2 separate regions of the Homo sapiens genome follow, and region 2 is linked to region 1. Evidence: promoter capture Hi-C in human tissues and cell types (Jung and others, 2019). All regions are on one chromosome and are shown on one strand. The core of a region is centred on a gene start or on the middle of the fragment in contact, and the rest is flanking DNA. Distances in the headings are between cores, read along the strand shown.

The links. Contacts are between HindIII fragments. The study calls those that stand out against the background at their distance.
Region 2: a contact is called between a fragment that was not itself captured here and the fragment with the promoter of ADRA2A in region 1, in 1 of the 25 tissues and cell types used here (H1 embryonic stem cells).

What each region holds. Positions count from the first base shown.
Region 1 is chr10:111,074,813-111,079,121 of GRCh38, forward strand. It overlaps ADRA2A (adrenoceptor alpha 2A), which reads left to right and starts at 2,217. Exons shown (of 1, transcript NM_000681.4): 1 at 2,217-4,309. The coding sequence starts at 3,185. RefSeq lists a silencer at 2,180-2,229. The HindIII fragment of the contact is 8,357 bases long and covers 1-4,309 here.
Region 2 is chr10:111,376,864-111,381,172 of GRCh38, forward strand. No RefSeq gene overlaps it. Among named protein-coding and RNA genes, the nearest start is that of HEAT2, 260 kb to the left of the region's middle. The HindIII fragment of the contact is 5,148 bases long and covers 1-4,294 here.

The DNA.
Region 1 (4,309 bases), core at 967-3,466:
ACACAGGCTAGCAGCAGAAATTTCAAGAAAGATAATTACTGTAAACTTTGTTTTTATTTCCTCTTTTGATTCTGAAATTAGGAAGAAGAGCAGTGTGTTGGAAGCTGGGGTGCAGATGGTAAGTGATGGTCTCCTAAGACTCAGTTCCCGAGTTCTACAAACAGCAACACAGCAAACCCCAGATTGCCACGGGCTCTGATTTTTGTCTCTTAGTATTCATACTTGAAGTGTGGGGTTCCTAGTTGCTGTGCAAAAATGACTGTAGCCATGTTTCCAACTGAGCCTACTGGCGATGTCCAAAGCCCCTGCCAAGAGCCTCAGAGCAGAGACTTTAGTAGAAGATGGAAAATGAGTGACTCAACAGAGCGAGGAAATTGTCTTCTCAGCTTCCTTTAGATTGTCCAGAAAGGGAGATTAGAAAGGCTCCTCAGAACTAACACTGGAAAGGGAGTTTATACCATTAGGGCAAAGATTGGGAGACAAAGGTACTGAAGTCAAATGAGACTTCTGTGAAATACTTTGGAAAGTACAGATTTTGAGACTACATGAACAGCAGCAGCACCAATAACTGTATCACTGGTGCGGGCTATAGACATCAGCTGGGAATGAAGGTGATTCTCAGGGCCCTTAATTTAGCCATCAGCCCCCAGCCAGACCTAAGCCTGCAGCTGGCTGCACAGAGAGGCAGCCTGTTCCATCCTTGGAATTCCAACTTAGGTGACTGCACAAGGCATTTTGGTTTAGTGGTTCCTTAAATAAGACGACATTCCTTTAAGTCTAATCTCTCTCCTGCTGAAATTTCCTACCCTCTTGGGTTTTACCATTAAACTGCTTGCTCTCATCTGAAAAGTGCAGCTAGCAGGGTGCAAGCTAGTGCTCTAGTGACCGTTAAAATCTATCCTAGGACAGCTAGCACGCACGGAAAAACTTGCCATTCGCCGCACACCCACTCCCCCCCGCCCCCACCGCTATTCTTATCAGAGAGAACATGGAAAATATTCTACTCCCTCTTCCCCTTATTGAAGGATGCTGTGTGTACATCTGAATGGGGGTGGGATGCGGGGCGGGAGTGGAGTCTAGCTTTCGGTCCTCAACAAAAACATAATGATTCCCAGCAAGCCAGAGCTGTGCAACCAAGGAGGCAGGATCCTGGCCTCTCTCGGATCTGCAGGAAGGGTGGGCTGTGCGGGTCCAGAGTGGGATGCCCGTTCTGGCCGGCGGTGCCTGCTGAGCCCTTCCTGATGTGACTTTATTAGACAAACCCCCACTCCCGCCAGGGGTAGACACACGAGTATCTGCTTTAGGAAGATTTCTGCAACACGGCAGGGTGCAATTCAAACTCTGGGTTCTCCTTTCCTGAGCTTAGAAACCAATTTGTTCGGAGATAGGAGAAGGCTCTGTTGGCAGAAGACCTAAGAGACGGGAGGAGGCGCCTGGCGTCAGCGGGTCGCTTCTCAGCCGTGACCACGAGCGGCCAGCAGGTGTCAGTGCGTCCTCGCTTTGCCCTGGCGCTCGGCTCCTGGACCCCTCCCCACCTCGGTCTAAGGGGGCGCGGTCCAGACCCCGGGTCTTGCGTTTCCCGCAGACAGCATCGCGGCTGGGAGGACACGTAGCCGCTTCTTCCCTAAGCGGAGGTCTGAACTCCGGCTTGTACCACTTCCCCGTGGGTGCTGTCCATTCCGCCCCAGGGGTTCCATCCGAAGCCGCGCCTTCCTCCCTCTCCAGGACCCCTTTCTCCCCAGCCTCCAGGAGCACCTGCGGACCGCGTCGGCTCTGGCCCGGAGCTGGGCTGCTCCAGACGTAACTCACACCGGAGGTTACTTCCCTCGATTTGGGCGGGGATTCCCTTCCATTTTTTTCTTCCCTTTTCTCCCAAGATCCAGCTTCTTGGGGGCACTCACGGGTGCCCGTTGCGTTCTGCTCCGTCGGCCCGGAGCTGCATGGCCAACTCCCAGCAGGGGCCGCTCCTCCCCTACCCCCCACCCCCGGGCTCCCTCTTTAAGTCTCTAGCTCAAGGTACCCGCCTCTCCAAAGGGCTCGTCCCGCCTGAGGGCAACGCTCCCCGAGGTCCAGCGCTAGGCGCGGGCGCTAGACTGGCGGAGGGGTGGTGCGAGGGGCGGGGGAGGGTCGGCTTCCCACGTGGGGGCTGACGCCGGCTGCTCAGCAACGCTTGCTTGATCCTGGGGCTATAAAACGAGTCCACCGTGAGCGCAGCGGAGCAGCAGCAGCTCCAGCTCGGTGCAGAAGCCCAGCAGCCGGCGTGCCGCCGCCCGGCCACTCCAGCGCCTTCTTCCCCGCCTTGCGCTCCTGCCCCAACTCGCGCTGTCGTCGGACCCCGGCCCATCCAGCAGCGCTCGGCGCCCACCAGGCGGACGCCCAGGAGAACCCCTGCCTCCGTCGCGGCTCCTGGAGAGCTGATCGTTCACCTGCCCCGGCCCGCCTGAGGACGGGGGTGCCTTCATGCGGCCCCCACACTCCTCACCCCGCCGCCGCCGCCGTCCCGGAGCTCCGCACAGTGTGCCCCAGCCCCAGCAGGGCGCACAACTTTGGAAGTCTCGCGGCGCTCCGAGAGGCGGCAGAGTCCGCGCCCCAGCCCCGGGCCGGGCCGGGCCAGAACCGCAGCGTCTGGGGGAAGCCAGAGAGTCGGTAATCGCTTCGGGGATGTAAGGCGACAGACATAGGACCCCCGAGCTCGCATCAGCACCCTTCGGCTGCCTCCCGGGGTGGGGGCGGGCCCCGCACACGGTAAGACCTCTTGCTTTCGCTCAGGCTCAAGATTCAAGATACAGATATTGATATGTATATATATATTTAATTTCCTGTCATCCTTCCAAGTTATCAGGCCACCGATGATTTTTGTTCTCCCTTCTTGAAGAATAAATCTCTCTTTACCCATCGGCTCTCCCTACTCTCTCCCGCCGCTTAGAAATAAAACTTGGCTGTATTAGGAGCTCGGAGCAAGAAGGCGCCCACCGAGAGCGTCTGAAGCGCGAGCCAGGCGCAGTTCGCGGGACCCGGGCCATGGGCCGCTAGCGGTCCTCCAGTTCGGGCCCGGCCTCCCTGCGGCCCCCTCCCTATGTGAGCCGCAGCCAGGCGAGCGGGGCGCCGGAGGAAGAGGAGGACCCACGGGCGCCGGGCCGGAAGGCAGCTGGCAGCAGGCCCAGGCCAGCGGGCGCCCGCGTTCATGTTCCGCCAGGAGCAGCCGTTGGCCGAGGGCAGCTTTGCGCCCATGGGCTCCCTGCAGCCGGACGCGGGCAACGCGAGCTGGAACGGGACCGAGGCGCCGGGGGGCGGCGCCCGGGCCACCCCTTACTCCCTGCAGGTGACGCTGACGCTGGTGTGCCTGGCCGGCCTGCTCATGCTGCTCACCGTGTTCGGCAACGTGCTCGTCATCATCGCCGTGTTCACGAGCCGCGCGCTCAAGGCGCCCCAAAACCTCTTCCTGGTGTCTCTGGCCTCGGCCGACATCCTGGTGGCCACGCTCGTCATCCCTTTCTCGCTGGCCAACGAGGTCATGGGCTACTGGTACTTCGGCAAGGCTTGGTGCGAGATCTACCTGGCGCTCGACGTGCTCTTCTGCACGTCGTCCATCGTGCACCTGTGCGCCATCAGCCTGGACCGCTACTGGTCCATCACACAGGCCATCGAGTACAACCTGAAGCGCACGCCGCGCCGCATCAAGGCCATCATCATCACCGTGTGGGTCATCTCGGCCGTCATCTCCTTCCCGCCGCTCATCTCCATCGAGAAGAAGGGCGGCGGCGGCGGCCCGCAGCCGGCCGAGCCGCGCTGCGAGATCAACGACCAGAAGTGGTACGTCATCTCGTCGTGCATCGGCTCCTTCTTCGCTCCCTGCCTCATCATGATCCTGGTCTACGTGCGCATCTACCAGATCGCCAAGCGTCGCACCCGCGTGCCACCCAGCCGCCGGGGTCCGGACGCCGTCGCCGCGCCGCCGGGGGGCACCGAGCGCAGGCCCAACGGTCTGGGCCCCGAGCGCAGCGCGGGCCCGGGGGGCGCAGAGGCCGAACCGCTGCCCACCCAGCTCAACGGCGCCCCTGGCGAGCCCGCGCCGGCCGGGCCGCGCGACACCGACGCGCTGGACCTGGAGGAGAGCTCGTCTTCCGACCACGCCGAGCGGCCTCCAGGGCCCCGCAGACCCGAGCGCGGTCCCCGGGGCAAAGGCAAGGCCCGAGCGAGCCAGGTGAAGCCGGGCGACAGCCTGCCGCGGCGCGGGCCGGGGGCGACGGGGATCGGGACGCCGGCTGCAGGGCCGGGGGAGGAGCGCGTCGGGGCTGCCAAGGCGTCG
Region 2 (4,309 bases), core at 471-2,970, 300 kb after region 1:
CCGGGCTATAAGTAAATTTAAACATTTTCTGGTTGACAATTGGTTGAGTTTATCTGAAGAACTGGGATAAAGAGAAAGGATATGTTCAGGTTAAGATAAAGGATTGTGGAGACCAAGTTTTATTGTACAGGAGAAGCTCTCAGATAGCAGACTTCAGAGAGAGCAGGTTGTAAAATGTTTCTTACCAGACTTAAAAGGGTGCCTGGCTCTTAGTTGATTATCTCCTGCATCTGGAAATGAAGGAAGGAAAAAAAAGTGGGGGGAAGGGGGATTCTCTATAGAAGGTGGATTTTTCCCAACAAGGGATGCCTTTTAGGGTCATTTCAAGATAATGACAGAGAAACATGTTTTGGGGTAAAATAATTTTATTTACTTTCTTTTATGCCAGAGTCAGATTGGAAAGTAAGTCATGATATACAGGGTTAAATAAAAAACATCTGATGAGAATTTGTGGTTTGTAGGACATGACTCCTCAGACCCCTTAGATAGGGATTTGGGCAAGATAAAAAAAAAAAATCAGAGCTTAGTCCTCAAAGCTAAACTCTTTTTGACCAATCCTGGGCTTTCTGCCTACTCCTAGAATCTGAGAATAGAAGCCTCCCCAAATGACAGGGACTGAGAATGGGAGAGGAATGCAATTATCCAAAGGAAAAATTGATTTCAGGCAAAGGAAAACAGTAAATATTTACTACAATATCATTTTCTTAACAATTTATCTTATATTAAAAAAACAGACAAAAATGTCTATGACCTCCAACAAGTCTATAAGTTCCATGGAGGTACAGAGTTTGTCCATTTTGTTCACCAATAGACCGTTAGTGTCTCTCACGGTGTGTGACACATGGTAAATATTTAATAAACATCAGCTGGATATGTGGATGCATGAATGCATGCATGCTTGGGAACTTGGTATCCCTTGTCTGGTCTTAGAAGAGCACAATGATGAGCCTTATACAAAGAGGAGAAAGAGAAGGATCAATCAAGTTTGTCACTTCTTTAAAGATTCTTTTGTAATTTTAAATTTTTGATGGATTTTCTTGGCTTGTATCCTTATATGTTTAGAAGACTGGAATGTTCTTAAAGAGGCTCTTCAAAACAAGACTCTAGCTGAAAAACAGGAGACACCTGCCTACCTTTATTTTCATCTCTGCACATCTCTGGTTACTAGGGCTTCTTACACGTGTACTTCCCCTGCTCTCTCACTCCTTGGTAACTGTCTCTAGGGATTCTGTCCTTTCCAGCACAAAGGCCTGTAGGGAGGGGTGCAGTTAACAAAAATACCTCCTGTTGGCCCAGAAGGAAGCCCATAGGATCTTTTCTGATCAATGTAGGGGAGAGATGAGGTGTAACAAACTAATGAACCTGAGATATTCCAGACTTTTCCATGCTCTCAGACACGTGGTCTCTGAGCTGCACTTTTCAGGTTTTGAGAAGCTAAATGGCAATCAGAGTGTGCTCCACACTCCAGAAGTGGCTTCCTCGGGAATGCGAGTAAACTCATCTCCTCCTTCTGACTCTTCCTCTAAAAGAGCCCCTCTGCTCAGTCTGAAACCTCAATTAAGATGGTTTACTGGATGCTTTCTTGACCTCAGTGGGCATATATATACCAAAGATCTTTCCACCAGGGTGACATTTTCCCACTGAGCCTCTCCACATGTAGAATAGAAGGTTCTGATTTAGGGGTTACTTCCCAGAAACTCCACATCCTCTCTCATAACACTCTTCTGTGTCTGCCAATCCTCATGGTCCTCAAGATATTCTTGAGGTCCTGCCTCAATTTTTCTTGCTCTCTGTTGACCTCATGTCCTCCCTTCCCATTGGAAATGGAGACACAAGCTGACAATAATGCTTCATTAGCTGGTACTCACATCTTTTTTTTTTTTTTCCAGATGGAGTCTCACTCTGTTGCCCAGGCTAGAGTGTAGTGGCATGATCTCGGCTCACTGCAACCTCTGCCTCCCAGGTTCAAGCAATTCTCCTGCCTCAGCCTCCTGAGTAGCTGGGATTACAGGTGTGACCCACCATGCCCAGCTAATTTTTTTTTTTTTTTAAGTAGAGACGGGATTTCACCATGTTGGCCAGGCTGGTCTCAAGCTCCTGACCTCATGATCTGCACACCTCAGCCACCCAAAGTGCTGGAATTACAAGTGTGAGCCACCACGCCCAGCCTGGTACGCAGATCTTAAAACCTTCCCTTTCCTCTAGATCTTTAGGTCTGATTCTGGGAACTATTTCACAGAAGAACTACAGTTTTTAATAGAGTAGTAAGGGAAGACTTCATGAGTAATTCACATTTGTACCAAGATTTGAAGACGGTATATTAGGCAGTCTCTGTAGGAAATGGTTGACTAACTCAAATGAGTGTCTCAATGGAGTTTAATGAAAAGATGGTTCCCCAAAAATAAGAATACCTAGGAAGGAAATGTAGGAAGCAAGGTGAAGCCCTCAAAAACTGTAGCCACCAAGGCTTGAAGGTACTCAGTGACCATTATAGCCGTTGGAGAGGGTTTGCTTGGCATGAGCTGTGCCTTCAATGGAGCAACACAGCCACTGCAAAATTGAGGCTGGAAGAGAGGGAGTTGAGGAGGAAATGCCCCAACCTTCTTTCTTCCTTATGCCTAATTCTTGTCAATGCTTCCCATTGGTTGAACTCAACCAGAAATCAGAAGGCAGAGGAGCTTGATGATGCTGTCCATAGAGGTCAGCCTCTTGAGACTGAGCAGTGGAAAGTGATATGGAGGGATAAAGAACAGAGAATATCTAGCACAGAACATGAGCAAGCTAGCTCTATCCAAGCAGGGAGAACAATAAGTTCAATTGTTCTGAGATCCGAGTGTGCCTGGAGTGCTTGAGTAGCTGCAAGAAGGCGGATGTGCCTGGAGCAGAGTGAATGGAGGAGGAATTGTTTTTGAAGATTCAGAAGATATTCCTGGCTTTGACAGTGCCTTCAGTAAAAACTATTATGCAGCATGATTAATCTAGCCATTGCTACCTGGAATGTTATAATTAATAGAGATTTTGACTTACTGACAATTTTATTACATCATCCTTCATTTTCAAATTGCTAACTGCTGCATGTGAGTGTGGCAGGGTGAGAGGGCTGGGAGGCTCATAACTCCAGCTAGAATCACCTCCCTCTACTCAGCTCCAATTGATCAAAGGCAGAGGATCAAGGAGTGAGAAGTGGGTCACACCAAGGCACTATATAGCTGTTTCCAAACAAGTGAGCTAAGACCCCCCCACCCCCATGGAACAGAATGGGAAGAAAATGGTGTAGAGAGACAGTGCTTGGTACCTAAACTTTATATTTCTTTTGGTTTTTAATCCTTTGTGTTTCTGGTAACTCTTGCTTGTTAGTTTCTGATTGAAGCATTCTAGGAGCAATAATTTCCCTGGCATTTCTCTTGATTCTGTCCTCTTATTGCGCCAAGGTATTTCTTCTCTTCCCAGGAAACACACAAAAACTTGGCACAATTCTGTGTCAGTGACTATTTAAACCTTTTGTTGTTTTGTGCACACAAATGTCGTGTGTGTGTGTGTGTGTGTGTGTGTGTGTGTCTTTCCCGCCTCCTTATAGACAGTGAGCTGCTCAAGAAAGAGGCAATGCTTGTTACAGACTAGAATCTACCCAGTGTTTTCAGTTCTAGTTCTAGAAACCACTGGCTACTTAACAGAAAGCAACATGTTTTAGATGCATTTTTTAGGAAGTCAGTATCAGTAGGCTGAACATGGAGTTACTGGGAAGTAATTTGTGATGGAGGTTGGGATTAAGCTTCACTGTGAGGATAAATAAAATTTTGATAGATGAAGGGGAGGAAAGGGGATGTTTTCAGCCAGTGAGATAGAATAGATTGAGCAATGGCTTGCAATTGGGTAGAATTGTGATTTATTGGAAGAAAGTGTGTGGCTGGAGTACCGGCCATGTGCTAATGAGAAGCAGGAGGTACGTCTGGAGAGAAGAGTTGAAGATTTTCTACTCCCCTTTTTAGTAAGTGAAGGACATCAGATCAGGAATGGGTTTGACTAGAACTAAATTAGAGGTGATTCATTATGGTAGTTTATAGCAAGAGGGCAACCCAAGTTGGTGTTAACAGAAAAGTAGAGAGCCAAGGAGGTGATCAGGACAAAATATGCAATCAAATGAGCTTCTGTAATGTGGATTCCATCCAGAGAACATCACAAAGAGGCCTCTGATCTTAGGGCAAAGGAAGAAATCTGGTTCTGAGGCAAAGAAGAGAAGGACAAGATTAAATGGGTAAAGTGGGGAGTTGGAGGATAAGATTGGGGATCCACTTGAAAGGCAAACAGC